2 separate regions of the Homo sapiens genome follow, and region 1 is linked to region 2. Evidence: promoter capture Hi-C in human tissues and cell types (Jung and others, 2019). All regions are on one chromosome and are shown on one strand. Each heading gives the region's core, a stretch centred on a gene start or on the middle of the fragment in contact. The rest is flanking DNA. Distances are from core to core; before and after follow the strand shown. Region 1 overlaps SLAMF6 (SLAM family member 6). Region 2 holds the start of PEA15 (proliferation and apoptosis adaptor protein 15).

Region 1 (3,745 bases), core at 811-3,310, 310 kb before region 2:
AGAACTTCTTGCTTTCTGCCTTAATTTCATTATTTAACCAGGAGTCATGCAGGAGCAGGTTGTTCAATTTCTATGTAGCTATGTGATTTTGAGTGAGTTTCTTTGTCTTGAGTTCTAATTTGATTATGCTGTGGTCTGAGAGACTGTTTGTTGTGATTTCAGTTCTTTTGTATTTGATGAGGAGTGTTTTACTTCCAATTATGTGATCAATTTTAGAGTAAGTTCCATGTGGCAATGCATAGAATGAATATTCTGTTGTTGTAGGATGGAGAGTTTTGTAGAGGTCTATCAGGTCCACTTGATCTAGAGCTGAGTTCAAGTCCTGAATATCTTTGTTAATTTTCTGTCTGAATGATCTGCCTAATATTGACAGTGGATGTTAAAGTCTCCCGCTATTATTGTGTGGGAGTCTACATCTCCTTGTACGTCTCTAAGAGCTTATTTTAGGAATCTGCTTTTGTATTGGGTGCATACATATTTAGGATAGTTAGTTCTTCTTGTTGAATTGAACCCTTTACCATGCCTTTCTTTGTCTTTTTTGGTCTTTATTGCTTTAAAGTCTATTTTGTCAGAAACTAGGATTGCAATCCCTGCTTTTTTCTGGTTTCCATTTGCCTGGTAGATTTTCCTCTATCCCTTTATTTTGAACCTATGTGTGTGTTTGCATGTGAGATGAGTCTCTTGAATACAGCACACCAATGGGTCTTCACAATTTACCCAGCTTGCCATTCTGTGTCTTTTAAATGGGGCACTTAGCACATTTATATTTAAAGTTAGTATTGTTATGTGTGAATTTGATCCTGTCATCATGATACTAGCTAGTTATTTTGCAGACTTATTGATGTAGTTGCTTCACAGTTTCATTGGTCTTCATTGTGTACTTCAGTATGTTTTGTAGTGGCTGATAATGGCTTTTCCTTTCCATATTTAGTGCTTCCTTCAGGAGCTCTTGCAAGTCAAGCCTGGTGGTGGATGAATTCCCTCAGCATTTGATTGTCTGAAAAATATTTTATTTCTCCTTTGCTTATGAAGCTTCATTTGGCCAGATATGAGATTCTGGGTTGAAAATTCTTTTCTTTAAGAATGTTGAATATTGACCCCCAATCTCTTCTGGCTTGTAAAGTTTCTGCTGAGAGGCCTGATGTTATTCTGATGGGCTTCCCTTTGTAGGTGACTTGGCCTTTCTCTCTGGCTGCCCTTAACATTTTTTCCTTCATTTTGACCTTGAAGAATCTAATAATTATGTGTCTTGTGGTTGATCCTCTCATGGAGTATCTTACTGGGTTCTTTGTATTTCTTGAGTTTGAATGTTGGCCTGTCTTGCTAGGTTGGGGAAGTCTCCTGGATGATATCGTGAAGTATGTTTTCCAACTTTGTTTCATTCACCTGTCTCTTTCAGGTACCATAATCAGTTGTAGGTTCGGTCTCTTTACATAATCCCATAATTCTCAGAGATTTTGTTTGTTCCTTTTCATTCCTTTTTCTCTAATCTTGTCTGCCTATTTTATTTCAGCAAGATAGTCTTCAATCTCTTAAATTCTTTCCTCCACTTGGTCTATTCGGCTATTGATACTTATGATTGCATTGTGATGTTTTCATGTTGTGTTTTTCAGTTCCATCAAGTCATTTATGTTCCTCTCTAAGCTGGTTATTCTGATGAATAGCTCCTGTAATGTTTTATCCTGATTCTTAGGTTCTTTGCATTGAGTTAGAACATACTCCTTTAGCTCGGCAAAGTTCATTATTACCCACCTTCTGAAGCCTACTTCTGTCAGTTCATCCTTCTCAGCCTGAGCCCAGTTGTGTGCCCTGCTGGAGAGGTGTTACAATCATTTGGAGGAGAAGAGACACTCTGGCTTTTTGAGTTTTCAGCATTTTTTATTGATTCTTTCTCATCTTCCTGAGTTTATCTAGCTTTGATCTTTGAGTCTGCTGATCTTTGGATGGGCTTTTTGTGGGGACTTTTTTGTTGATGCTGTTGTTGTTGCTTTCTGTTTGTTTTTCTTTTAGCAGACAGGACCCTCTTTTGCAAGACTGCTGCAGTTTGCTGGGGGCCCACTCCAGATCCTATTCACCTGGGTCCCTCCCCACCCTGGTGGTGTCACCAGTGGAGGCTGCAGAACCGCAAAGATGGCTGCCTGCTTCTTCCTCTGGGAGCTCCGTCCAAGAGGGGCACCAAACTGATGACAGTGGGAGTGCTCCTGTATAAAGTGTCTGGTAACCCCTGCTGGGGAGTCTCACCCAGTCAGGAGTCACAAGATAAGGGACCCACTTAATGAAGCATTCTGTCTGTCCCTTGGCAGAAAGGATGTGCTGTGGTGGGGGGGATCCTACTTATCCAGACTGCCCAGATTCCTCAGAGCCAGCAGGGGAAAAGACTAAGTCTGATGATCCACAGAGTCCGCAGCCCCAGTACCCACAGGGACTCAATCCCAGGGAGATCAGGGTTCTGTCCATAAACCCTTGGCTGGAGTTGCTGAAATTCCCACAGGGAGGTCCCATTCAGTGAGGAGGGATGAGTCTGGGTCCAGCCTAAAGATGCAGTCTGGCCACAGTCTGCCACAGCTGCTGTGCTGCACCATGGGGAATTCCTCCTGGTTCCAAACCACCAGTCCCTCTGGCACTGGCAGGGGAAAGCAGCAGACAGAAGCTGCAGTGATGGCTGCTGCCCCTTCCCCCAAGAACTCAGTAGTCTTAGACGGTCTCCAGCCAAGTGGCAGCTGAGAATCTGCACAGCTCTGTGCTTGGGATCCAAGGCCCTTGTGGTGTTGGCTCACGAGGGGATCTCCTGGTCCATGGGTTGCACAGATCCATGGAAAAAGCATGGTTTCCTGGGTGGGGTAGCACAATCACTCACCACTTCCCTTGGCTGGGGGTGGGAGCACCCCTTGCCCCATCAGCTTCCAGGTGGGCTGTTGTTCCACCCTGTTTTCCTCACTCCCTGTGGGTCATGCCAACCACCTAGTCAGTCCCAATGAGTGAGCCTGGATACCTTAGTTGCTGGTGCAGGATTCACTCACTGTTTTCGTTCTTCTCAGTGGGATCCTCCAACCACAGCTGTTTCTAGTTAGTCATCTTGGCCCCTCCCCACATTTTATCTTTTCTTACTTATGCTTTTGGTGTCATATATCAGAATCCATTCCCAAATCAAAAATCATGAATATTTATCATTATGTTTTCTTCTAAGAGTTTTAGCTCTTATATTTAGGTGATCGATACATTTTGAGATAATTTTTGCATATAATGAGAGGAAGGGGCCCAACTTCATTCTGTTGAATGTGGATATCCAGTTGTCCCAGCACCATTTGTTAAAGAGAGCATTCTCTCCCTATTGAATGATCTTAGCACTCTTGTCAAAAATCACCTGGCCATAAATGTTTGGGTTTATTTATGGACTCTCAATTTAATTTCATATAGACATCTATAAGTTTATCTTTATGCCAGTACCACACTGTTTTGATTACCATATCTGTATCAGTTTTGAAATTGGAAAGTGTGAGTCCACCAATTTTGCTTTTCTTTTACAATATTGTTTTGGCTACTTGGGGCATCTTGAAATCACATATAAATTTGAGAATTAGCTTTTCCATTTATGAAAAAAAATCAACATTTTGATAAGGATTGCATTGACTCTATAAATTGCTTTTGGTGGTATCGGCATATTAATATTATCTTCCAATTAATGAACATAGGATGTATTTCCATTTATTTAGATTTTCTTTCTTTCAGAAATGTTATTTAGTTT
Region 2 (3,852 bases), core at 541-3,040:
TCTGAATATTCGGAGCTGCAATTAGGAAGGGGTGAGCATCCCTGCTACAAAAGACAGAGTAAGTTTGGTCGGAGTGGCTTGGAGATTCAGTGGTTGGCTGCCTACCAGCTGGTGAAGATATCCATCATGACATTGTGCGTGAGGATCTGTGTGAGAGAGTGAGGCGCTCTGTGATTCTGTGACCCTCTTCATGCATGATAATACATCCACACATGATGGGCACGGAATTGAGGAAGTAGGCAACCAGGGAAGCCTGCAGCCTAGGGCATCACTGGCAATTTCCCCAATGGAGTATTTAACCACAAAGGGAAGAGCAATTAAAGCTAATCGCTCTGACAGCCTGGGGCCCAGACACACGTACCACTTTCCCTAACTCCCAGTGGTCTCCCCCAACCTTCATCCTCCCTAATTTGTTTAGTGCACTCTCAAACACTGTTTGCACTTCTCTGACCATCTCTTTCTCTCACTTCCTCCCTCTCCCTGGTTCCCTGACTATCTCTAGACCTCTCTGGAGATGTCTGTCTGCTTCTCACACACATTCCTCTCATTCTCTCTCTGACTTGGGTTCCATTCTTGGCTGACTCATACCCATTCTTTTTCCTCTCCGTTTCTTCCACCCCCTCCTCCTCCATCCCTTGGCCACTCTTACCCAGAAACTAGCCACTCCCAGCACGCTAAGCCCTAACTGGACCCAGGAAGAGAAGCCACCAGAAGCCCCTACCCTCATTAGTCCGCAAAATCCTGTCTCCTTGTGTTAGAGGAATGAGACCAAGATTTTCTCCCATCTTTCCCCACAGTTTTAAAGAGGAACAATCTGAAACCATGGGGCTGGGAAAAGCTGCCAGAAAATCAGGATGGATTTGGGGACAGTGGCCCTTTCTGTCCACTCAGCTGTCCTGTCGGACTGATGACTTGGAGCCCGCAGTTCAGAAGACTCCTCATGGGATGCCCCACCCCACAGAGTGGGGGTGTGGTGGGCGGCCGGATGCGTAGTCCAGGGACGTTTGTGATTTGGAGTGTGCTAGACTATGTGTATAAGTCACATGGGTGTGTGTCACTGTGTGTGCTGGCGTGCCTTATAGGTGTGCGTGTTTCCCTGTCAGTTTTGACACGGATTATATGAAATTAATAAGGGTTTTTACGTTAGATATACATCACTTCTCTACACCCCCAGCTCCTCCTTCCCTCTGGACAAGCTTTCCGCCAAGCCCACCTCTTCCCCAGGTGCAGTGAGCTGGGGGTGAGGGCACATGGTACCAGCCGCCCGCGGAACCGAGACAGGGCTGGGCCGGGAGACCGCCAGCGGAGGCGAGTCCGAAGCCTGAGCGGGGAGGGAGGGGCGGGCGCTGGCCTGGCCGAGCCGGCTGGGCGGGAAGCAGGCTGCATCCTAATCCACAGGCCCCGGTCCGACTCCCAAACTGCCGTTCAGCGTGGAACGGGCTGGCCGGAGCCACGCCGCCTCCAGCACACGCTCGGCGCTCGGGACGCACCGACCGAGGGACGGACCCCGTGAGGCCTGACACAAAGTGGACTCGTCCGGGGTCCCCACACTCCCCGTCTGGCCCCCGGTGTCCCAGATCGTTGCCCCTCCAAGCCTAGACCCCGAAATCTGCCCCTTCCCCGCGACATGTCTCCTCTCCGCCCCTCTCACCGCCTCTGGAGCTGAGCGCTCAGGGCGCGGGCACTCCTGAGTCCCCGGTTCCTAAGCAGCGTCCGGAACCTCCTCCTCGGCTCCCGCCGCCGCCGCCGCCGCTTCTGCCGCCGCCGCCGCCTCTTCCGCCCGCGGAGCCGGAGCCCGAGCCCAGCGCCGCTCACTCCACCCGGCTGGCCGGTGATGTCAGAGCCGGGGAGGGGCGGGGGGCGGGGAATGGCGGGAGGAGGGGGAGGGATGGAGAGGCAGGAGGGGGCGGGGGACCGAGGGGCTGGGGTTCTGGAAGACTCCTAGGATGGGGGACAGAATTGGGCGGAGGGCTGGAGCGGAGACGGTCTCTTCCCCCTGAACTGCGAAACAATTCTCATATTTAATTCTTACCCAGTAGGGCACCCTCCTCCCCTTTTGACCTTTGGATGACCACGGTGCCTAGGACCCCTGGGAGGCACAGAGTAGGTTTGGTTTAGGGGGTTGGAAAGCCTTTGGGGGCTGGATTCTCTTAGCTGCTGGCTTTAATATTTGTAAAAACTTCTTGCCTTGCCTTAAGGGTCAGGGGCGCAGTGGAAAATGACTGATCAGACTTATCCACATTGGGAGTGAGGGGTTGGGGCCACATGGGGACTTGAGGAGCCCTGGATCTTCTCTTTCCAGGATGATGCCTTCAGGCCCTCTTGCGTGCCTCTCACCTTTCCCAAACATGCCCCACTCCTGCCTTCCCCCTACCATGATGTAATTTTATTTTCTGGGGAGAAAAAGAGCAGCAGTGAGCTCAGCATGCAAATATAGACAACTTGCAAAGCCACACTTAGCTCCATCTCCTAGCTCTGCCCCTCTGCCCAGGCCCAATGTGGCAGCTCTCACTTCCCCTCTACCCCAGGGACTTTCCTCCCCCAGATTCTCAGCCAGACTGAAAAGAGGAAAGGAAGAATTGGAGAAGCATCTGTTTTCACCCCCATCTCTATAGCCTAAGGGGTCTTGCCTCAGCTCTGGGCAGGGTTTGGCCCTGGAAAGAAGTCTGACCCTGGGTAGGTCCTTCCTGCCAGGAACTCCAGCAGGCCCAGGTTGGGGGATTCCCCTCAGTGTTTGTGCCACTTCCAGGATCACCCATCTCATCTCAGTTCCTACCTGGCAGAGACTCCTCCAGAAACCTCAAACGAGCCCCTCCTTTCTTGGGTCTACACCATTCCTAGAAGAGGCCCAAGTTCCTGCTGCTCTGGGTTTCATAGCATTTCTCTGCTGTTTCCTCTCCCCAGCATTCCCTGTCACACACTAATCATTTGCCTTTGTATATATCATGTTTGCTCTGTGTTGTAGGGACAAAAACTATTTCGTTGACCCATCTTTGAGACTCATGTAGTTTCTAAGTGAAAGGCTCAGGTCTGGAGGCAACAAGACACAGGGGCCTTGGGCTGCGTGCTAGTTCCACCCATTCCTTGGGCAAGTTATGCCTGAAAGCCTTAGTGTCCTCACCGGTCAGATCAGGGTGCCAATGTCTATTTCTGAGGGTTCTTCTGAGATTCAGAAATAGTAAGTCTCTAGGGACTGGCACAGATGGGTGCTTAAAAAATAGGAGCTATTATTTAGACCGGGGCCTTCCACTGACCTATGCTAGACAGTAAGCTCCACAATATTATTGTAAGACTAGCTTAGTGCCCATACTACTTATTAAACATTTATTAAATAGCTACAAGTTGGAATGAATACATAGTTTCTGCTTTCTACACCCCTGCCACATTCTCTAGGAACACTTCCTGGACTTGTCTGTGGAGAGTGAAAATATATCTAATCTCAGGTCTCATCTTTCCGTACTTAGAAATCCTCTAAGTCTCTCAGCAACAACTTTACACCTGATCCATGAAAAATATAATGTTGGCTTGGCGTGGTGGCTCACGCCTGTAATCCCAGCACTTTGGGAGGCTGAGGCAGGTGGATCACCTGAGGTCAGGAGTTCAAGACTAGCCTGACCAACATGGTGAAACCCCATCTCTACTAAAACTACAAAAAAGTTAGCTGAGTGTGGTGGTGGGCACCTGTAGTCCCAGTTACCTGGGAGGCTGAGATAGGAGAATCTCTTGAACCCGGGAGTCGGAGGTTGCAGTGAACCGAGATCTCACCACTGCACTCCAACCTGGCAACAGAGTGAGACTCCATCTCAAAAAAAAAAAAAAAAAAGAAAAAAATATATATATATACACACACAT

Evidence for each region. Contacts are between HindIII fragments. The study calls those that stand out against the background at their distance.
Region 1: a contact is called between a fragment that was not itself captured here and the fragment with the promoter of PEA15 in region 2, in 1 of the 25 tissues and cell types used here (small bowel).

What each region holds. Positions count from the first base shown.
Region 1 is chr1:160,511,052-160,514,796 of GRCh38, reverse strand. The region is part of intron 1 of SLAMF6 (SLAM family member 6); the gene reads left to right. Among named protein-coding and RNA genes, the nearest start is that of SLAMF6, 10 kb to the left of the region's middle. The HindIII fragment of the contact is 3,853 bases long and covers 134-3,745 here.
Region 2 is chr1:160,203,322-160,207,173 of GRCh38, reverse strand. PEA15 (proliferation and apoptosis adaptor protein 15) reads right to left here and starts at 1,790. Exons shown (of 4, transcript NM_003768.5): 1 at 1,652-1,790. PEA15-AS1 (PEA15 antisense RNA 1) reads left to right here. Exons shown (of 5, transcript NR_123725.1): 3 at 798-1,836; 4 at 2,040-2,103. RefSeq lists a silencer at 1,675-1,934 and enhancers at 2,085-2,134, 2,485-2,584. The HindIII fragment of the contact is 6,187 bases long and covers 329-3,852 here.